4 separate regions of the Homo sapiens genome follow, and regions 1, 2 and 3 are each linked to region 4. Evidence: promoter capture Hi-C in 16 types of primary human blood cells and fetal thymus (Javierre and others, 2016). All regions are on one chromosome and are shown on one strand. The core of a region is centred on a gene start or on the middle of the fragment in contact, and the rest is flanking DNA. Distances in the headings are between cores, read along the strand shown. Region 1 holds the start of F2 (coagulation factor II, thrombin). Region 2 holds the start of LOC124902671 (a long non-coding RNA gene). Region 3 overlaps CSTPP1 (centriolar satellite-associated tubulin polyglutamylase complex regulator 1). Region 4 holds the start of LRP4 (LDL receptor related protein 4).

Evidence for each region. Contacts are between HindIII fragments. The CHiCAGO score rates a contact against its expected background, and 5 or more counts as called.
Region 1: the fragment with the promoter of F2 here is called in contact with the fragment with the promoter of LRP4 in region 4 in 1 of 17 cell types (M2 macrophages); the score reaches 5.0 in M2 macrophages.
Region 2: a fragment that was not itself captured here is called in contact with the fragment with the promoter of LRP4 in region 4 in 6 of 17 cell types (M1 macrophages, M0 macrophages, megakaryocytes and 3 more); the score reaches 11.1 in M1 macrophages.
Region 3: a contact is called between a fragment that was not itself captured here and the fragment with the promoter of LRP4 in region 4, in 1 of 17 cell types (M1 macrophages). The highest score is 5.2, in M1 macrophages.

The regions. Positions count from the first base shown.
Region 1 is chr11:46,714,494-46,720,528 of GRCh38, forward strand. It overlaps F2 (coagulation factor II, thrombin), which reads left to right and starts at 4,720. Exons shown (of 14, transcript NM_000506.5): 1 at 4,720-4,821; 2 at 5,209-5,369; 3 at 6,030-6,035. The coding sequence starts at 4,743. The HindIII fragment of the contact is 4,700 bases long and covers 1,627-6,035 here.
Region 2 is chr11:47,133,196-47,138,809 of GRCh38, forward strand. It overlaps CSTPP1 (centriolar satellite-associated tubulin polyglutamylase complex regulator 1), which reads left to right. Exons shown (of 9, transcript NM_024113.5): 4 at 4,450-4,534. It overlaps LOC124902671 (a long non-coding RNA gene), which reads right to left and starts at 3,681. Exons shown (of 2, transcript XR_007062666.1): 1 at 3,622-3,681. The HindIII fragment of the contact is 949 bases long and covers 3,313-4,261 here.
Region 3 is chr11:47,073,375-47,078,649 of GRCh38, forward strand. The region is part of intron 3 of CSTPP1 (centriolar satellite-associated tubulin polyglutamylase complex regulator 1); the gene reads left to right. Among named protein-coding and RNA genes, the nearest start is that of ARFGAP2, 100 kb to the right of the region's middle. The HindIII fragment of the contact is 3,128 bases long and covers 585-3,712 here.
Region 4 is chr11:46,915,182-46,920,587 of GRCh38, forward strand. It overlaps LRP4 (LDL receptor related protein 4), which reads right to left and starts at 3,369. Exons shown (of 38, transcript NM_002334.4): 1 at 3,147-3,369. The coding sequence starts at 3,198. RefSeq lists enhancers at 1,559-2,430, 3,594-4,098, 4,793-5,294, 5,295-5,406 and silencers at 2,934-3,103, 3,114-3,293, 3,304-3,533. The HindIII fragment of the contact is 10,743 bases long and covers 922-5,406 here.

The sequences.
Region 1 (6,035 bases), core at 3,470-5,969, 200 kb before region 4:
TGGGATTATAGGTGCTCACCAGGCCCGGCTAATTTTTTTGTATTTTTAGTAGAGACAGAATTTCACCATGTTGGCCAGGCTGATTTCAAACTCCTGACCTCAAGTGATCTGCTCACCTCAGCCTCCCAAAGTGCTGGGATTACAGGCGTGAGTCACTATGCCCAGCCGCTTACTCACATTTTCTAGTCAAAATAGAAAACTGCTTAAGTCACTGTCTGCAGAAGAGCAAAAAAAAAAAAAGAAATAAAAAATTGAAAACTGCTGATCAGATTGAGAAAAACATAAGATTATTCACCACCTAAAGAGAAAAAATTTCAGTCGAAAGGGAAAAAAATTCATTTTTGTCTTAATAAGGCAAATTCACAATTTTTGAGGTTTTAACAAAATATATGCAGAAAGACAAGGCCACCCCGTAGAACGTGCACACAGCCCTAGGCTTGGAAATGGCTGGATTTAATAATATCTGGTCTTTCTTTGAGCCCTGAAATTCTCTAACACTATGTCTTGGAACATAATTTTACTGTTTTCAGTGGTTATAGAGATTTGCTTTACAATTTAGCATTGGTCTTTACCCATGATTTTGTTTGACGCCAACTTGTTGGGCAGGAATGCACCCCCTGCCCCCCGCTTTGTTATGGCCTTGCTCCTATAGGGCAAGAATATCTGCTTTAAGGCCGGGTGTGGTGGCTCAGGCCTGTAATCCCAGCACTTTGAGGGGCCAAGGCGGGCAGATCACCTGAGGTCAGGAGTTTGAGACCAGCCTGGCCAGTATGGTGAAATCCTGTCTCTACTAAAAATAACAAAAATTAGCTGGGTGTGGTGGCACACACCTGTAATCCCAGCTATTTGGGAGGCCGAAACAAGAGAACCACTTGAACCCAGGAGGCGGAGGTTGCGGTGAGCCGAGATTATGCCACTGCACTCCAGCCTGGGAAACAGAGCAAGATTCCGTCTCACACACAAAAAATATATATATGTCTGCTTTAAGTATGCAGGCCGTGTTTGTGCTGAACGGCAGGAATGCCAAACTTGGCTGCATGGTACCAACTAGGGACCTCAGAGTTCCAAGGAGAACAAACAGTTGGTTCCTGGAGGCTGGGGGCTTGTATCAGACCCTGAAGACTAAGCATGTGCTGGGTCCATTGTTGTCCTGCACCCATGGTAGTGCACTAAACACCTAACCTATATTTAAGTGTTTTTGTTTGTCCAAAAAATGTCTTTTTTTTTTGGGAGTCAAGAGTCTTGCTCTGTTGCCCAGGCTGGAGTGCAGTGACACGATCTCAGCTCACTGCAGCCTCCGCCTCCCGGGTTCAAGCTATTCTCCTGTCTCAGCCTCCCAAATAGCTGAGACTATAGGCACGCACATCCATGCCCAGCTAATTTTTTTATTTTTAGTAGAGACGAGGTGTCTCCATGGTGGCCAGGTTGGTCTTGAACTCCTGTCCTCAAGTGATCCACCTGCCTCGGCCTCCCAAAGTGGTGGGATTGCAGGCATGAGACACCGCGCCCGGCCTGCCTTGTCCCTTCTTAAAATGAGTTGTCCATTTGTAAGCTGCTGATTTCTTTGGGACATTGTCTCCGTAAACTTTTCATAAAGCATCAGTGATTTCACCATTCTTCCACCCAAGCTTCACCGTAAATTTGTTGTTTGTTCTTGCTTCAATTTCAGCAGAATTCATTTAGCTCTGATAAGGGCTCGCTTCAAACTGATGTCTTATCCTTCTTAGTGCCTCAAACTACATCCTGTTCACTCATGTTATAGCAAGTTAGTGTGAGTTTATTTTGGTGCACAAAAATTTTTTTAAATCCATGCAGTCTTTTTTCATAATACGCATTTTCCATGAACTTTTCGAAGACCCCTTGTAGATGTCTGTTGTTTAAACCACCCAGTTTACAGTAATTTTTTTTTTTTTTTGAGATGAAGTCTTGCTCTGTCGCCCAGGCTGGAGTGCATTGGCACACTCTCGGCTCACTGCAACCTCTGCCTCCTGGGTTCAAGCAATTTTTCTGTCTCAGTCTCCCGAGTAGCTGGGATTACAGGTGTGTGCCACCATGCCTAGCTAATTTATGTGTTTTTAGTAGAGACGGGGTTTCACTATGTTGGCCAGGCTGGTCTCGAACTCCTCACCTTGTGATCGGCCCGCCTCGGCCTCCCAAAGTATTGGGATTACAGGCGTGAGCCACTGCACCTGGCCTACAGTAATTTTATAGCAGCCCAGGCTAAGATAGCCATTTCTGGGTATAAGAATGTCATATACTGAACAGGCCTGCAACTGTGAGTAAAAGTCTGCAAAGAGGCCGGGCAGTGGCTCATACCTGTAATCCCAGCACTTTGGGGGGCCGAGGCAGGTGGATCACCTGAGGTCAGCAGTTCGAGACCAGCCTGACCAACATGGTGAAACCCCATCTCTACTAAAAATACAAAATTAGCTGGGCGTGGTAGTGCATGCTTGTAATCCCTAGCATGCACTTGGGAGCTACTTGGGAGGCTGAGGCAGGAGAATCACTTGTACTCAGGAGGCCGAGGTTGCAGTGAGCTGAGATCACGCCACTGCACTCCTTTCTGGGTGACAGAGTGAGACTCCATCTCAAAAAAACAAAACAAAACAAAACAAAAACAAACAAAAAAACCCAACAGGTAGGTAGCAGTGGTTCACGCCTGTAATCCCCACTTTGGGAGGCTAAAGTGGGCAGATCACCTGAGGTCAGGAGTTCACGTCCAGCCTGGGCAACATGGTGAAACTCTGTCTCTACAAAAATACAAAAATTAGCCAGGCATGATGGCGGGTGCCTGTAGTTCCAGCTATTCGGGAGGCTGAGGCAGGAGAATCGCTTGAACCTAGGAGGTAGAGGTTGCAGTGAGCCGAGTTCACGCTATTGCACTCCAGCCTCCATCTCAAAAACAAAACAACAAAAACCCAAAATATATATTATAATTTTATTTTATTTATTCAATTTTATTTTATTTTATTTTATTTTTCTAGGAACAGGTCTCATTCAGGCCAGGCATGGTGGCTCACGCCTGTAATCCCAGCACTTGGGAGGCCGAGGTGGAGGTGGGCGGATCACCTGAGGTCAGGAGTTCGAGACCATCCTGGTCAATGTGGCGAAACCCCATCTCTACTAAAAATACAAAAATTAGCCAGGTGTGGTGGCACACGCCTGTAATTCCAGCTACTTGGGATACTGAGTCAGGAGAATCACTTGAACAGGGAGATGGAAATTGCAGTGAGCCGAGATTGTTCCACTGCACTCCAGCCTGGGTGACAGGGCGAGACTCCGTCTCAAAAAAAAAAAAAAAAAAGAAAGAAAGAAAGAAAGAAAGAAACAGGATCTTACTCTGTTACCCAGGCTGGAGTACAGTGGTGCAATCATAGCTCACTGCAGCCTGGAACTCCTGGGCTCAAGTGATCCTCCTGCCTCAGCCTCCTCAGTAGCTCAGACTGCAGGCATGCACCACCATTCCCAGCTAATTTTTAATTTTTTTTTGGTAGAGATGAGGGTCTTGCTATGTTGCCCAGGCTGGTCTCAAACTCCTGGCCTCAAGCGATCCTGCCATGTCGGCCTCCCAAAGTGTTGGGATTACAAGTGTGAGCCACTATGCCTGGCCTAAAAATATATATATGAAAATATATAAGAAATGGGCCTCCCAGGAATTAAGGTGTTTGCGGGAGTCCTGGTCCCCAGTTTTTCTGCCAACACTCCCTGTTCCCACACATGACCTGGTCCAGACCCCAAACAGCCAGGCCCAAAGGACAGGTGAGGCGAGGCGAGAACTTGTGCCTCCCCGTGTTCCTGCTCTTTGTCCCTCTGTCCTACTTAGACTAATATTTGCCTTGGGTACTGCAAACAGGAAATGGGGGAGGGACAGGAGTAGGGCGGAGGGTAGGGTAGGACCAGAAGCCTCTCTAGGCCTGCCATGGGGCAGGCAGCCAGGGAGAAGGAGGGCCCCTCAGTGGAGACCCAGGGATTTCAGTAGCCCCTGTTCCGGGACAGGCGCAGGTCCTGGGAGGTGACAGAAGATAGACTAAAGGCCCAAGAGTCCCTGGACCTGACTCCTCCCAGGCAGCTGCCACACACAAACACACCTCCAGGCACCCTGGACAGGAAGGAGGAGAAATGGGCCCCTCCTCCAGTGGCTGAGAAGCTGGGGCAAATGTTGGCTGTTCCTATCCCTGGTGCATCCCATGGCGAGGGGCAACTTCCATCAGGCCACACCTTTTATCTTTGTCTCTATTTTTGATATCTGTGTATTATGATTATACAAACCCCCACATTGGCCTATATGTGCAGATCTGATTAAGAACTTACGATATTCCATGGACATTCCATTCCTAATCTCCTTTAGTCCTCACAACAAAGTATTATTCCCATTGTATAGATGAGGAAACTGAGGCACACAGAGATGACAAGCAACCACCGCTATATGTTAGGATTCGAAGGAGCTCCAGGAAAGTCTCATAGCCCCACTGGCCAGAATGGGCTAAATCTCAGAGGGGGAGGGTGGGAGATGGGGGTGACAGTGACCTTTTTTGTGACTCCTCCTAGACCATCCATCCCTGCTCCCAGGAGGACCTGTCCTCCCAGATGGTGGAGATGGACAGGAGGACTATCTACCCACCCGTCCCCACGGCCCTGACCCTCTGACCTCACCCTCTCCGCTGATTTCTTCATGTTAGTTCAACATTAACCCAGAGGGGTCAGGACAGACAATTCCTCAGTGACCCAGGAGCTGACACACTATGGCGCACGTCCGAGGCTTGCAGCTGCCTGGCTGCCTGGCCCTGGCTGCCCTGTGTAGCCTTGTGCACAGCCAGCATGGTAAGGGAGTGCTTGCAGGCTGGAACAGGCTGGAGGACTGGGGTGTGGGCCCATGGGCTGGGGTCTCCTGGCTGGACAGAGCACACAGAGCTGGCCCCTAAGTAGGTCTCAGCCCCAGGCGGCCAGCTTAGGGAAGAAGTCAGGAGCTCAGGGCTGGAAAGAGAATGGCTGCTTCTCTCTTCCAATATAGGGAGCAGGCTGGGGGCAAGGGGCAGTGTAGGAGGGGCACAGGGGGCCACATTTAGCAGCCTTCCAGGCACTTCCACCAGCCCAGACAGCCTCTCTCAGAAGCCAGCAGGGGAGGGTGGGCTTGCTTCATGCCCCCAGAATGGCCAAGACTGCCTGTTCCTGAGGCCGCTGTCCCATGACCCCCCCACCGCCTTACAGTGTTCCTGGCTCCTCAGCAAGCACGGTCGCTGCTCCAGCGGGTCCGGCGAGCCAACACCTTCTTGGAGGAGGTGCGCAAGGGCAACCTGGAGCGAGAGTGCGTGGAGGAGACGTGCAGCTACGAGGAGGCCTTCGAGGCTCTGGAGTCCTCCACGGCTACGGTGAGCCTGGGCTGCTCGGACGGTGCCGGGGCCTCAGACCGGGCCCAACTCTAGACACTTCCACAGAGAAGCAAGCGAGGAACGCCACAGCCCCTTCGCTGCTCACAGCCTCATTTCAACTCTGAGCCCCTCCTCACAGGGCTGGCAAGAGGAGCGGCCTCAGCCTTTCCTGGGGGTCTCTGTGCCTGGACTGTGTCCCTGTGCAGCTCCATGACATGGGGAGGCCTCCACAGTCTTCAGACATCCACCTGCCCTGGAGCTCTGTGTCCACATGGCCTCCTCAGCGGCAGACTCCCACACCACCCTTGAGGGGTGGGACTCTGGGGAGGCCACCACAAGCCCCCGGGCTCAAGACTCAGTGTTCCTGGAGCTCTGTGTCGCCTTTCCTGTCTGTAGGGCTCTGCCAGGGTCCCACTGCCCCCTCTCCTCCCATCTCCCCCAGCCTCTTTCAGTCTCGGTGTGTGTGTTGGAGGAACTCCCCTATCCTCAAATATTCTTCTCCTTTTGGAAACAAAAGTAGGAAACTCTGCCACAAACCTCCCCAGAGCCTGCCCCCTGCGTGACCAGGGTAAAGGAAAGTGTGAGGAGGAGACATAACATTTACTAAAACAACACAAAACAGGAGCTGCCGTAGCCTCACTCCCAGCCCTTGTTTTTCAGGATGTG
Region 2 (5,614 bases), core at 2,537-5,036, 220 kb after region 4:
CAAGGGTGTAAAACACCTCTGGTCTGGAGCCAGCCACATAATTGGTGAGACTAGTGCAAGGCTTAGAAGAAGAAAGTTTAGCAGTCTGACCACCCACAAAAGGAGACACACAAATTTGTGGAGAGTGTTCTGATTTTGATCTTACACCAAAGCCTTATTATGTCTTTGCCTTTGAACTTGCAGGACCTACTGGCTGACACTCTTCTAATTGTGGGGGGATCTAGAGAAGGTGTCTACTGATACACAATACTTACCTCCCCTGCACCTGCCAGGTAGAAGAGTGGCTGGCAGGTGGGTGGGGATGAGAGACCACGGTGTGGCCACCAGCACAGTGGTCCCCCAGCCCATGCCCTCTGGCCTGAGGCTGCTGTGCTGGAGCCTCAGTCTTCCCTGTTGACAGTAATTAGAACTTTTCAGACTCGGTTTCTTACATGGAAAATCTCAATTCACTTGAATTGTCTCCTTGATCCAGTTCAACTGGAGCTATTTAGTTCCTGCAGTTAGTTTGGAGGGGAAAACAAGCTCTTAAGCCTCACACATTATAGCTGATAAGATCAAGGTGCTGACAGTGTTAGCTGGGTAGGCTTTGGAGCCAGACTGCCTGGGTTTGAATTCCAGTTCTACCTCTTAAGTGTGCACAATCTGAGTTTTTGTGTCTGTGAAATGAGGATAATAGTCGTGAAGATTAGTGAGGTGACATATGTAAACCCCTTAGAACAGTGCCTCCCCAAGACCAAGTGCTCAATAAATGTTAGCTGTGTTATTGTTAAGCCCCTCCTGCCATCAGCCTCCCTTCTCTCCCTCCCACCCTGAGATCTTGCTCAGGGAAGACAGGTCCCCTTCCTCTCCCCTACCCTGGACCCTCCTCTCTTTCCTTGCTCACCAGCTTATTTCATCCCTCTAAACTTTCTCATCCTCATCTGTGAAATGGGACTGGAAATAATGGAGTCTACTTCATAAGGTAGTATGCTGTGAAGGCTAAGTGAGTTAATTTTTTTTTATTTTTTATTTTTTTGAGGGGGGAAGGAGTCTCACTCTGTCACCCAGGCTGGAGTGCAGTGGCATGACCTCAGCTCACTGCAACCTCTGCCTTCTAGGTTCAAGAGATTCTCCTGCCCCCCAAGTAGCTGGATTACAGGCACCTGCCACCATGCTTGGATAATTTTTGTATTTTTAGTAAAGATGGGTTTTTGCCACGTTGGCCAGGCTGGTCTCGAACTCCTGACCTCAGGTGAACTCTTGCCTTGGCCTCGCAAAGTGCTGGGATTACAGGCGTGAGCCACTGCGCCTGGCCTAAGTGAGTTAATTCAAGAGCTGAGCACAGATCTCCATGGCTACTCACTCTCTTTACAGTTATTGCTGGAGCACAAAGGGCTGTGAGAAGGGCCTTTGAGATCTTGGACAGTTCTAAGAGCCAAAGGGCCCAAAATAGACAGGAGCATTAGGGTGAACTGGTGCCCAAATGCAGGCTGCAGAAGCTAGGGGGACTGCTACCTTGTTCATCATAATGGGGAGCCTGGAACAGAGCAGGCACATGGGAATAGGAAGTGAGTGGCCACTGCAGGAGAGTGTTCAAAACGGATTTGGCTCAGGCAACCCAACAGAGAACTTTCAAGGCAGAAAACTTTTAGGTGTTTAAGTGTCCAAACTCAGCAACAGCCAGGCTCATGCCTGTAATCCCAACACTTTGGGAAGCTGAGGCGGGAAGTTCAAGACTAGCCTGGGTGACGGCACGAGACCCCGTCTCTACAAAAATTTTTTAAATGCGCAGGGTGTGGTGGCATATGCTTGTAGTCCCAGCTACTTGGGAGGCTGAGATGGGAGGATCACTTGAGCTCAGGAGTTCGAGACTGCAGTGAGCTATGCCACTGCACTCCAGCCTGGGTAACAGAGTGAGGCCCCCATCTCAAAACTAATTAATTAATTAATTAATTAAAATTTAAAATAAAAAAAACTCAGCAACAAATACCTTCCTCCTCTCTTCTTCTCACCTCCAGAATTTGAAAACAGAACCAAAACAAACTCCCATTGTTTGATGTTACTAAGTTCTAGACATTCTGCTAAGCACTTTATAGACATCATCTCTCTTACACTTGACTTTAACCCTGAGAAGTGTCAGTGTCACTTGCATTTTACAGATGAGAAACTGAGACTTAGAGAGATTAAGCAATTTGCCCAAGATTACATACCTGGTGAATCGCAGAGCCAAAATTTGAATCCTAGCCTATGGAGCAGAAAGGGAACAAGCTCCCATATGCCTATCAGTGTTCTGATTTTGAAATAAGTCTTACCACTTATAGTTCTCTCAATACCCACTGTACAACAGCTGAGGAGTGTCTCGAAGTAGCAGAAATCATCTGCCCTTGACATTATCTGGTCACTACTTCAGTAGAATTAGAACTCCTCTCTCCACATCCCAACACAGAGTCTGCATGGAAGAATAATAATAACAACTAATAGAACTACTCTCTCCACAATTAAAAGTTGTTTATTTGCTTGCATTTTCATTAATCTCTTTATCTGACTACTGTCCTCACTTAACATTTAGAAGAGTCAAGTTCCAGAAGTGGTGAGCAGGATGTATTCTGTTTTTCATATTTTTAAGAGCTTTTGTTGTGTTAGAGAAGCACGCAGTGATTTTTGTAAATCATTCTTCTGTCCTTGGAAGCAAGTACTTGAAGTACATGAGTTAGAATAATATCAAAAACCTGAAGAGGGCCTAGGGTCTAGAAACCAGGAAGCTAATGTTGACTCCTAGCATTGTCTTTCTTAATTAAGTAACTCTCTCTCTCTCTCTCTCTCATTTTTTCATTTTCCTTCATTCTGTTATCTTCCCAAGGATATTTTGTAGGTAATTTGGGGGATAAATGTAAGTTCCTATGAAACACTCTGACTCTCCCTAAGAATGCTATCAGATATATCCACCAAAGTTTAGCCTAGAAAAGCACGATGATTCAAAGATAGAACTTTCCTTTATTTACTCCCTGCCCTGCCAGAAATCACTCTTCTCTTTTCTCTACATGGGGAGTTCTGGAGTGAGAATAAAGTGGGAACACATTAGACTCAGTGGATTTTCTCCCTTCCCTTCGCCTTTTTCCTCACCCCAAGCCTGAGACCACGAGTGGCAATGACTCCCTCCCTTGAAGAACAAGACCTCCTGCCAGGCTGTGCCCGAGGTCAGGCAAGTGGGAAGAGGAGAGTGCCACAAAACCATCTTGATCCTTTGACCTATATTGACGCTGAGTCTGTTCCTTTGGTGTTTCTGACTTTGGCAGTGTGGTTAGTCAAACTCTCTGTCCCCACCTTGAATTAAGCTTTGATGAAAAAGTACTAGGAACCCAGGCCTTTCCCTGGAGATTTGGGGTTTTTGTCTTGGAAAAGCATCAACCAAACTAACGGGGGCAGGAGATCTGGATTCCTGTGGCTTGGGCTAACTTAGGTCCAAAGAAACCAAGTGCCTGTGATCATCATCTTCATTCCCCAAATGTAGCCATGCCCTCTGGATTCCCTCCTCTCACTCATCCTCCTCCCAATTAGGCAGGCTTCCGGGTGGATTGCTCTCACTTTAGCATTACCAGGCCCTTCCATATTCGAAATGCTTTGATATATGATAATACTTACACATTCTTACTCCTTGGCTGATCTAAAATCTTTTGCCTTCAGTACATGCAGCAACAAAATAACTTAAGCATCAGTGTATTTCTTCTCCCTCAGGATCCTATAAATTTCTCTGAGATTCACCTCTCTGGGTTCTCTGCTGGACCACAGAGCCTCATCCTGGCTCACCTCTCCCAAAGCACAAAGCATTGCTTCTGTATATCAGGAATCATTTGGTTGCCTTGACTGTATATCTTGGACCTTTGTCTTGGCTTCCTATAATAGGATGACCAGATTTGTGTTCAGCCATTCAAAAGAAGCCAGCCTGCTGCAGTACTGGATGACAGAGTAATGAGGTCTGTGGGTTTCTATGCTGTACTCTTCTCCCTACACAGCAAGACTGTTTGCGTTAGTACTGCTTCCAGATATTCTGTGGATGGTCTTTGGGCATGTGGTGGGAAACGTTACCATGCCAGAGAATTTCAGCAAATTTAACCGGCTTTGAAATGACTTGTTCTTCCAGATTTTTATATACAAGGAAAACCAAACTAAAGAAGACTGATGAAGGTGCCTCTCTTGTTTGCTCTCTTCACCCGACCAATTTTCATACCAGTGAAGCTCCTTTGGTCAAAATGGTGTAACTGGATGCCTCCCACCCTGGAAAAGCTTTGTAGAAATACTGATCTTAAAATCTCACACCTGGAGGTTAGAGACTAGCATACCCTTCACACTGACTTGCTTTTAAAAGAACAGCTCTACCAAGACCAGGTCTGAAACTCATGAAATGAACAAAAAGAGGGCAGTGACTTGAAATGCAGAGACCTAATGTGTTCCTCTCCATTTCCACTTCAGATTTGCTGACCATGAAAGAATATCACTGTTTGCTGCAATTACTGTGTCCTGATTTCCCGCTGGAGCTCACTCAGAAAGCAGCCAGGTACGTCTCCTGGACTCTTGAAACCAACTCAGCTCTCTGTGGGCCACTGCTTCCTAGAGAAACCTGGAGTGTATACAAATGAAAAAAAGGAGCATTTAGGGAAGAAACTGGCAGTGGGAGAGGGGTCTATTTGGGATGTGCCCCAAAACATAATACATTCTGCATTTCCAAAGGGAAGCGAAATGATCCTTTGTGGTTTCTGTGGGGAGCCTCAGGGTCTGAAGATAGAGTTGGAGGGTGGTGAGATGAAGAGGCAGAAAAAGCCCAGACCCCTCCAATACCCCCACACACACACACCCTAGAGGATATTCTGAGAAAAGAGGGGCTGCATTTGTGTGTTTTCACGCTACTGTAAAGATACTACCCAAGACTGGGTAATTTATGAAGAAAAGAGGATTAATTGACTCACAGTTCCGCGTGGCCTCAGGAAACTTACAATCGTGGTGGAAGGCAAAGGGGAAGCAAGGACCTTTTTCACATGGTGGTAGGAGAGAGAAGTACAGACAGGGGAAATGTCAGACGCTTATAAAACCATCAAATGTCTTCAGAACTCACTCACTATCACAAGAACAGCATGGGGGAAACTGCCCATGTGATCCAATCACCTTCCACCAGGTCTCCCTCTCAACACCTGGGGATTACAATTCGGGTTGAGATTTAGGTGGGAACACAAAGCCTAACCATATCAGGGGGCAAGGGTTGGCAGTGACTTGTGATGAAGAGAGTTGAGGTTGGGGACTGGAAGGGCATAAAGGTGATAAAGCCCCAGTTGAAGGAAAGGCACATTATATTATTTATGCCAGAAGAAGGTTTTCAAGATCAGTCCAGAACCAGGACTTGGCAGAAATAGTTAGAAGCCCCTAATTTCTGTGTTGGGTTTCACCATCATTCACAATTTTTAACCACATGAGGTAATTGGACTATGCCTCAGTTAACTTTTACTTACTTAACTCAAAACCTGAGCTAGGCCAGACACGGTGGCTCACGCCTGTAATCCCAGCAGTTTGGGAGGCCAAGGCAGGCAGATCCCCTGAAGCCAGGTATTCAAGACCAGCCTGGCCTACATGGCGAAACTCCATC
Region 3 (5,275 bases), core at 899-3,398, 160 kb after region 4:
CTCAATGGAAGGAAGCTTTCATCGAAAATGAAGATTAGGCTGGGTGCAGTGACTCATGCCTGTAATCCGAGCACTTTGGGGGGCCAGGGTAGGAGGGTTGCTTGAGCCCAGGAGTTCAAAACCAACTTGAGCAACATAGTGAGACCCTGTATTTTTTTGAGAAATATTTTAAAACTTAGAAAGAAAGAAAAGGAAGCTTAGATTGGACCTTGAAAGATGGACAAAAATTGAATAGGAGGGAGAGAAGAAGGCATTTTAGGCAGCATGAGCGCTAAAGTGATAATAATAATGCTTTTTGAAAAGAAAGGAGGAAACCAGCTTGTCTAGAATAAAAAGTAAATATGATTTGTGATGGAGAAGTTTGCTTTATTGCTAAGTTTATTTCATAAGATATCTTTGATATATTACAAACTATATTTTTGTATACTTGAGCAGGTCCTAGAAAAATATTTTGTAATTATTCTGAATATTGACTCTAAAGTGATGTAAAAACTATGACTACTATGAAAAATTCATTATTTTAGTGTATTGAGGGTAGAAGATTTCAGTACATATGCTGTGTAACACTGTCATCTCTGTGCACAAGCTTGTTCTCAAGTCAAACAGTGGCTTTTCATATAGTCTTTTAATTTGTGGTTAATATGTTCCTACACCTTTCTTCTTCTATTAAAAAAATCAAATTAGCCGAACGTGGTGGTGCACACCTGTAATCCCAGCTACTTGGGAGGCTCAGGCGGGAGAATCTCTTGAACTCGGGAGGCAGTGGTTGCAGTGAGCTGAGATTGCGCCACTGCACTCCAGCCTGGGCAACAGTCTCAACAACAACAACAACAAATCAAAAAGCACCAGTTGCCATGGCTCATGCCTATAGTCCTAGCACTTTGGGAGGCAAACATGGGAGGATTGCTTGAGCCCAAGAATTTGAGACCAGCCTGGGCAACACAATGAGACCAACATCTCTACAAAAATAAGAAAAACTCACCAGGCATAGTGGCTCACGCCTCTGGCCCAGCTACTTGGGAGGCTGAGGTGGGAAGATTCCTTGAGCTCAGGAGGTTGAGGCTGCAGTGAGCTGTGATCATGCCACTGCATTTCAGCCTGGGCAACAGAGCAAGATCCTGTCTCAGAAAAAAAAAAAAAAAAAAAACAGAAAAAAAAAAATCAAAACTAAGGTTGGGGAAGGGGGGAAATTTTCTTTTAAAAAAGACATTAAGATGGAGACTTTTCAAACAATGGAATCAGAATTCACTTTTAGCAGTTACTTAGTTAACAGGACTATATTCTGTTTGTAGTGTATACCCTAAATGCTGTAGCCATGTAAGTGATAATTACAATGTATACAAGTCTTCCTGAGAACCATATATTTGAAATTTTAAGTACAAAATGTCAGCCATAAAGTTTTCCTTATTGAATTTGTGTATTATTAAGTGCTTTCAATGTTCAAAGCTCTATGCCAGATGAAAGATATACAGGGAGCTCCCTCATTCATCGATTCGTTTATTCAACAGTATTTTTTTAGTGTGTCCTCTGTGCCAGGTATTATTCTAGGTGCTGGTACTAAAAGAATAAGGAGAATATAGTTCTATTTTTAAAGAGTTCACAGTCTCGTCTGAAAGAAAATGGACATGTAAATAGTTATAGACCCTCTAGAAAGTGTCAGGCCAAATACATGTGTTTATTTGCTGTCTCTGTAGAGCACACTAAAATTGTAATACGTCAGGTGTGGTGGCTTATGCCTGTAATCCCAGGACTTTGGGGAGGCCAAGGCAGGAAGATCACTTGAGGTCAGGAGTTCGAGACCAGCTTGGCCAACATGGTGAAACCCCATATCTACTAAAACTACAAAAATTAGCCAGGTGTGATGGCAGATGTCTGTAGTCCCAGCTACTTGGGACTTGAGGCAGGAGAATCGGTTGAACCCAGGAGACAGAGGCTGCAGTGAGCCGAGATCGCAGCACTGCACTTCAGCTTGGGCAACAGTGCAAGACCTTGCCTCAAAAAATAAATAAATAAAATAAAATAAAAGTATAATAAAGAGGGAGAAAAGATGTAAAGGCACAAGAACAAAACAAAGGAAGACATGACAGGAAATAATAGATATCCACCAAATTTTAGACGGTGGACAGCAGAAGCATAAGTAAAAACTGATTTGGTAAAGAAAACTGATGTATAACTACTTGCAAAAGGAAAAAGGTATGTTTGTGCCATAGAGGCCTAAAAGGGTTCAAGAATTGGAGGTGGGTTCAAGAATTGGAGGTGTCGGCCAGGCGTGGTGGCCTCACGCCTGTAATTCCAGCACTTTGGGAGGCAGAGGCAGACAGATCACCTGAGGTCAGGAGCTTGCGACCAGCCTGGCCAGGGTGGTTAAGCCCCGTCTCTACAAAAATACAAAAATTAGCTCAGCATGATGGCAGGTGCCTGTAATCCCAGCTACTCAGGAGGCTGAGGCAGGTGAATCTCTTGAACCTGAGAGGTGGAGGTTGCTGGGTTGCTGTGAGCTGATATTGCGCCACTGTACTCCAGGCCTGGGTGACAGAGCGAGATTCATTCTCAAAAAAAAAAAAAAAAAAAAAAAAAAGAATTGGAGGTGTCAAGTACTCTGAAACTGGGAGTGAGAGGGGAGCTGAAAATAAGAGGATATATTGAAAATCATTATGAGGAGCAATTAGATCCCCAGATCCCTCCCCCAACTTCAAGCATCAAGGTCACTACCCTTCATTCCATAGAAGACTGGAGATATTAAACTAGAGGAGCTCTTGACTCAGGAGCACCAGACACAGAGCGTAGGTGAGATGCCCTAGTGAAAAAAGATTGTCAATGTCTATCTGCTAAATGTTGACATTTATTTTCCAGCTCCCTTCCCTTGCTTAGCTGTCAGAATGCTGGCTTCCAAATGAATATACCCCAGGTGGGATTCTGGAATATTTTCTGGAGAAACTGAAATAGCCTCAGAGGAAGTCCCTACAAATCTGACATTTAGGAGTTGCACAATGAAATGACCAGGTTTCCGCCCATTCATTCTACAGTGAAGCTCAATATAAACAAGCTCCAATTCATTCAGATAACCAGTTTTTTAGTACCTCGCACCAAATAGGAATGAACATATTCAGGTATTCAAGGATCACCAGAAATTTGGGGGAAGTCTCTAATATGATAGCCAGAAGCCAAAACAAAACAAAATAGAGGCCAGGCATGGTGGCTCACACCTATAATCCCAGCACTTTGGGAGGCCGAGGAGGGCAGATCACCTGAGGTCAGGAGTTCAAGACCAGCCTGGCTAACATGGCAAAACCCCGTCTCTACTAAAAATATAAAAATCAGCTGGCCATGGTGCCTGTAATCCCAGCTACTCGGGAGACTGAGGCACAAGAATTGCTTGAACCCAGTAGGCAGATGTTGCAGTGAGCCAAGATGGTGCCACTGCACTGCAGCCTGGGTGATGGAGCAAGACTCTGTCTCCAAAAAAAAAAAAGGAACAAGAAAGAGTTCTTAGAAAGTAAACATTGTAATAGCTGAAAGAAAAATTCAGTAGATGGGTTGAAAGATCAAGAAATTACCCAGCAAAGGCAAAGAAGTAGAAAACAGGAGGAAAAAAAAAAAAAAAGAAAACTGAAGGCCCAGTCCAGGAGTATAAGACCTAAAAATTTGAAGTTCTAGAAAGAGAAATTGGAAGAACTAGAATGCCATCAGGCTTCTCAACAGCAACATGAGAAGCTTAAAAAAAAAAAAAGTGCAATGCTTTTAGAATTCTAAGAGAAAATTATTTTCAACCTAGAATTCTGTACCAAACCGAACTATCAATCAACTGTGAGGATAAAGTTGTTTTTTTTTTTTTTTCTTTTTAGACAGAGTCTTGCTCTTGTCGCCCAGGCTGGAGTTCAGTGGCCCAAACTCGGCTCACTGCAACCTCCGCCTCCTGGGTTCAAGCGATTCTCCTGCCTCAGCCTCCCAAGCAGCTGAGATTAGAGGCACCCGCCACCACACCCAGCTAATTTTTTGTATTTTTAGTAGAGACGGGTTTCACCTTGTTGGTCGGGCTGGTCTCGAACTCCTGACCTCAGGTGATCTGCCCACCTCGGCCTCCCAAAGTGCTAGGATTACAGGTGTGAGCCACTACACCCAGCCGAGGATAAAGATTTTTAGATGGGCAGGGTTTCATAAACTTTAACTTTTATGCAGCCTTTCTCATGAAACTACTGAAGAGTATGTTTTATCAAAAAGTGAGAATAAGTTTAGGAAGATGAAATTATGAGATCTAGCATCAAGGGGTGCAACACAGGAGAGAAAGAAAGAGAATTCTTAGAATGATAATGGAAGGTAGTTGCAGGACAACAGTTTGTGCAAGACAGCTAGAAAGCAATTCAGATTGAAGTAGCAGGACAGAAGGCTCTAGGAGGAATTTCTGCAGGAAAATTAAATAATAGAATTGATTATCTGTTGTGTAAAAAAATTGTCCAACCTTCAGTTGGAGAATTAGGGTTTAATACTTCAGTTGAAGAAGCACTGATTAATACTTAAAAACCCCCACAAACCGAGAAAGAAATAATCATTCTAAGAAAAACAAAAGGTTGTATAAGAAAGAAAATATAATAATATACCTTGTGTTTTTGCTGTGCATAATATTTACATAGTCATAAATGAGTAAATACTGAATATTGGTAAGCCAAAATTAGTATCATGAAAAGATGGACAGATGGGAAGTATATGTGTGTGGTGAAAAAGATAATTTGTCATCTTCAACTGAAAGTTAAAAGATGTCTAACATTTAAAAATCAAGAAATAGCAGTATAAACATATTATTTAAAGAAGCAAAGCAAAAAACAGAGGACTCAGTGAGTTTTGTTAAGTATGACAGGTTAGAAGAATTACTACAGTAGTTTGGTTGGGGTGAAATGAGTTATAACTTCCAAGAGAACCATTTTAGTTGAGTGACGGAAGCAACGTTGAAGGAGTTACTGAGTGAATGAATGGGTAGTAAGAAAGAGGAGGTAATGAGCATAGCATACTCCTCTGAGAAATCTGGCTTTGAAAACAAAGGGAGGAGAAAGCGGTGTTAGTGAGTTGAGTCTATGAAAGATTTTTTAGATTAAGACACCACTTAGACATGTGTGCATAGACAGCAAGGAGTTAATGGAGAAGGTAAGGTCAACGATGCAAGCGTAAAGGGGATAGTTGGTGGAGCAAGGTCCCAGAAACTGAGATAACATGGACTCAAGAGCATAGATGGAAAGATTAATTGTAGGAAGAGAAGGGAAAGATTTCTTTCTCTGAAAGA
Region 4 (5,406 bases), core at 2,119-4,618:
ACTCAAGCACCATGACAACCCTGGTCACGACAACAGCGAGATGGAAAGGAGACCAGTCTCAGCTCAATTGCTCTGCACTTATTTTCAGATACAACCTTCTATCTACCCAAGCACGCCTAGGCAGAAGTTTTAACATTTCCCTTACCTGGATGAGACCTCTAGAACAAACACACTTTCCACTCTTCCAATGGTTGTCATCCATGCCCTTACTTCAAACTTCAGGATGAAAATCACTCAGGGCTATTACCAGCCATCAAGTTTCCTTCCAAAATCTTTAAGGTTGGAGAGTTATGTGGGCTGAGTCCAAACCAATAGGCTCTAGGAAAAGCCCCAAGGACTAGCAGCATCCAAATAAGCACCTTAAACTTTATTTATTTATTAAGATAGAGTCTCACTCTGTCGCCCCGGCTAGAGTGCAGGGGAGTGATCTTGGCTCATTGCAACTTCTGCCTCCCAGGTTCAAGCAATTCTCCTGCCTCATCCATTCGAGTAGCTGGGACTACAGGCATGTGCCACTGTGCCTGGCTAATTTTTGTATTTTTAGTAGAGATGGGGTTTTGCCATGTTGGCCAGGCTGGTCTTGAACTCCTGACCTGAAGTGATCCGCTAGTCTCAGCCTCCCAAAATCACCTTAAACTTTAGTGTCTTTAATTCATGCCTTGCTGAGGTCAGGTCTGCCTAATGGATCTACTACTACATTTATCACAACTGCTGTCTCCCTGAGCCCCTGGAATTGAGTGTCAGTCCAAAAGATGTTTTGGTGGTATTTTTGGTTGTGCTGGTTCCAGGCTCTGAAACTGCTCAATCTTACTGGTGAACTGTGAATCTGACCCCCCAGACCTCCAAGGATGGCTCAGTATCAGGCCAGGTGATGTGTATACCTTCACCCCACTGCCTACCCTTACAAACATGTGCACAGAAAGCTTCCCATGCTTAGACGTTTCTATTAAACTTTTTTCCTTAAAAAGAAACCTGGGCCGGACACAGTGGCTCACACCTGTAATACCAGCACTTTGGGAGGCCGAGGCAGGTGGATCACTTGAGCCCAGGAGTTGGAGACTAGCCTTGGCAACATGGTGAAACCCCATCTCTAGAAAAAAAAACAAAAATTTGTAGGGTATGGTGGTGCATGCCTGTAGTCCCAGTTACTCAGGAGGCTGAGATGACAAGATCACTTGAGCTTGGGAGGTCGAGGCTGTAGTGAGCTATGATTGCCCCACTGCATTCCAGCCTGGGCAACAGAGTGAGACACCCTCTCCAAGAAAAAAAAGAGAAAGAAACCTAAAAGCGTTACCGCGAATCCTCCCATTCTTTTTCTGTGAAACATTAGACATACGCAATTCTCTCCCCCCATTCTCACCCCCATCCTCTATGCACATGTAATATTTGCAGCGTTGACAGCTCTGGAGCAGTAAAATCTTCTTGGCCAGTCTCAGCCCGGAACCTTCCAGCTCCCCCTTCCCTAGGGCAGAAGGCGACAATCTCCTCTCTGGCTTTGTTGGTATCCGTTTTAACCCTAATTTTTTTTTTTTTTCCCAGTGCCTTGCCATTTCCCTTGATCTTTTTCAAAACTTCCTCCAGGGGGCTGAGAGGAAAGTTCCATCCCCTTTCCTTGCAACCCGAAGGGGGAAACCCCCCAAAAAGCAAAGCTGTCCCTTTAAGGGGCCCATGTGGTGGGAAGAACAGCTACATTCCTACCCCAGTAGGGCCGCTGTCCCAACACGCCAAAGAGGCTACAAATAACCTTCCAGGAGAGAGCCGGGGAGGGGAGAGCGCAGAGCGGAGCGGAACGTGGGCCGGCCAAGCTACCGCTCTTCGGAGAGAAAGAGCTCAGTCCGCGCTAGAGAGGACGCGGAAAAAAGCCCCTGAAAACCCACAGGTAGTTTAAATAAGAGACATGAAAACTCTGTTTTGGATTTGGGAGGTAAACCAATCTTTAAAACGAGTGCCTAGACATCTCCACGCCCTGCCAGGCAAGTTCGGAAATCTGCACTGACTTTTTCCACACGAGCTGTCCTACGTGAAAGAAAGAACCGGTAAAAGACCAGGCAGGGTCTCCAGACCCCTCCATTCTGAGCCCCAGCTCCCTTCATCGGGGCTGCGAGGCAAATGGGGAGACTCGGAACTCCCGCCACGATGAATAGCGATGGGTGAATAGGGCTGGGGTTCAAAGATCAAAGTTCTTTGATCTCTGGGCACAAACTAGGGAAAGCTGCTCAATCACGGGGTGCACCCAGGGTCGTTAAGAGCCCGCGGAGAAGCAGATTCCATCGGAGCCCTAGTCCCACACAACAGGGGGTACGGGCACCAAGGAGTCCTGCTGCAGCCGTCCAGCTCCCCCGAGGGCTGGGACCCTGCCGCGAGGGCCCGGCGGCTGCCTTCTGGGGTTCAGGGTTACCGGCCCCCTGCCCCCCTACCCCAGCCAGGGCAGATCTGCGGGAGCCTTCCAGCAGTTTCTTCCCTATATTCCTCCTCAGCCCCCTTTCCAACCACCTCCCTTTAGGACGATCCAGGGCTGGAAGCTGACTGGCCGCAGCCAAGAGAGGGACCCCGAAACACCGCCGAGGGGAGATGCTGCCCGCAAACAGTGCCCCAGAGCCCCTTGGTGGGAGCAAGACCTGGAGTCCGGGAATCGTTCTCCGAGTAGAGGAATCCCGGTGCCCAAGTACCAGATTCTACCGGGGCCTCTCTCCGCAACCCGCCCGAGCCCCCAGCCCCAGGAAGGAGGGCTATTTACAATTTATGGGTTTAGCGACCCTCCTCACCCGCCTCCCTTTCTTCGCACGCATTCATTCGCACCAAGGACACAGAGCCCCCGACCTAACCTGAAAGGGAAGCAGCCCCCGCTCTTGAAAGAGCAGCGAGGGAGGGCGAGCGAACGAACGCCCCGGACCTTACCCGCGCCCCGGCCCAGACCCGCGCCCCGGCCCAGACCCGAACCCGCGGAAGCGCCTCCGCTGATGCCCCCGCTCGGACTGCTGGAGCCGGGGCCGCTCCGGGTCCTCTCCCCTGCACGCAGCCCCAGGGCCACGGCTAGGAGCGAGGGCGAGGGGTCTCAGGCCCCGGCCCGCGCCGTCCAGGTCCCGGGAGGCGAGTCCTGCAGCGGCCGGACCCAGGGACAAACTTTCCCGGCGGGCGCCGCTTACCGTGTGCGCAGAGCAGGGCGCCAAGCAGCAGCGCGCCCCACTGCCGCCTCATGGTGCCGCCCGCGCCGCTCGCCCGGGGTCCCGCCGGCTCCCGCCGGACGGCGCGGCGGAGAAGCCCGCGGAGGGTCCCCGAGGGGGAAGCGTCCCGGGTGCACGGCGGCCTGCGCGCCCCGCAAGTCGCCCTCGGGCCGCCGCCGCCTCCAGTGCTGCCAGAGCCGACGCTGCCCCGCCAGGGGACCGGGAGGGGGTGTCCCGGGCCCGACCGCCCCGCCCCCCGCGCCGCAGCCCCGGCCACCGCCACCGCGCCTGGGCCCGCCCCCAGCGCCGGCCCGGCCCCTTCCCGCCCTCGGCCCCGGCTCCCTGGTCCCCCGACCCCACCCGCCGGCGCCTCCTGCGCGGGGCCCCGCTCCTCCTCAGGCCGCCCCCACATTCCTGGCCCGAGAGAGAGCCCCCTCCCTGTCGCTATTACTACTGCTTAAATTTCCCTAACTTAAAAAAAAAAAATTATCCTAGCAGCAAGTCTCGCCCCCGCTCACTCCAGCTCTATGCTTCAGACGAGCACCTGAGCTGACCCAAGTCGCCTGGACGTGACCCTGCCCCCGCCTACCGGCCCCAAGTCCAGACTTTTTTGATGTCTGCGAATACGCAAGGCTTGTGGATGCATAATCCTCTTGGGTCTTTATTGACATCAAACAAGGGACATCAGGGGGCCTGGAGTGCTGTATCTTAACTGGCGTTCTCACTGTCAAAATTCCTTTTCGGAGATTTTCTTCTCCCTGGCCTCCCCCGGTCTAGGCAGCGTTGTTCTAGGGCTAAATAATTCACCGACCCCCCCGCCCCTTTTCATTCACTCATTTCCTGAGATGGTTGTCTGGGTCCTGTTGCTCCAGCTCAGAGGCCCAGATTCGGCCCATACAGACTTAGTTCCTCCTTGCTGTCTTTGTAAATCACTGTTGTTAGCCTCTTCACCTTCTTTGACTTTCTGATCCTGACAAGGAAGGGAGGGGGTCAGGAAAGGAGTCCTCATGGGCAGCTGCACTCCCACAAAGCCCTCAGCCTCCTTCCAGCCCCAGTCTGTAGGTCCTTCCCTCAGATTTAACTTTTGATTTACTGCATAAAATCATAAACTTGTCTCTAGTCTTCCTTCCTTTTGTGGTCTACTCTCCCTAATGCATATTAATAATACGGATTAATTTCACCACCTTCCATTTTTCCAGGTTGAATCTTGTTTTGTTCCTTTTGCCCAAATGCCCAACTTTCTGATGGCCCAGTATATCGCTTTTTTCCCTCCCAGCTGATATGCCAGCATTTCTTGGGCTTGGATCATCTATGGATTTCATTAACTCACTTTCCTCACCAGTAAATAGAGTCAGGAAGACCCAAATGCCCCCTGTTAGCTGAGGGGAAAGTAATTTGGCATAGTGCAAAGTGGTTATTAGATTTCTCTAAATGGATACATTGACATTTCATCCTTGCTTGTTTTTTTCAGTACTTTCACTTCAAATTACCATCTTTTACCAAAGCTAACATGAACCATACTTTGCGACAGCAACAACAACAACATAAAAGATGTAAGGTGTTAACTCCTTGTTAGGCAGTAGTTTTCTATATCGTTTTGCCTGAAATTTTTATCCAGATGCAATGTGGTTGAACTAGCATCACCATGGTAACTATTACTGAAGCATTTTCTGGGTGTGTAGTTCTTCTTGCTGACTGAAGGCGGCAGTAGCGTCAGGTCAGGCTTACATGATCTTGGGGCTAGGCAAGACTGTCAACATTTCTGGCCTCGATCAGTTACCACAGCCTAAAATCCAAGGAGGAAAAAACGTCAAAAGTAGAGGCTGATTCCCCAGCATCCTCCTTCCCACCTCTCATTTCCTAATGCAGGTTTGGTTGGTCTCAGGGTTTCATATATGTTGCTTATGAAGACTTGCTCTTTTTTTTTCTTTTTTGAGACGGAGTTTCACTCTTGTTGCCCAGGCTGGAGTGCAATGGCGCCATCTCAGCTCACTGCAACCTCGGCCTCCCGGGTTCAAGCGATTCTCCTGCCTCAGCCTCCCGAGTAGGGTAGCTGGGATTACAGGCATGCGCCATCACGTCCGGCTAATGTATTTTTCGTAGACGGAGTTTCTCCATGTTGGTCAGGCTGGTCTCGAACTCCTGACCTCAGGTGATCCACCCGCCTCGGCCTCCCAAAGTGCTGGGATTATAGGCGTGAGCCACTCTGCCTGGCCGAAGACTTGCTTTTAAATCTGTTGGG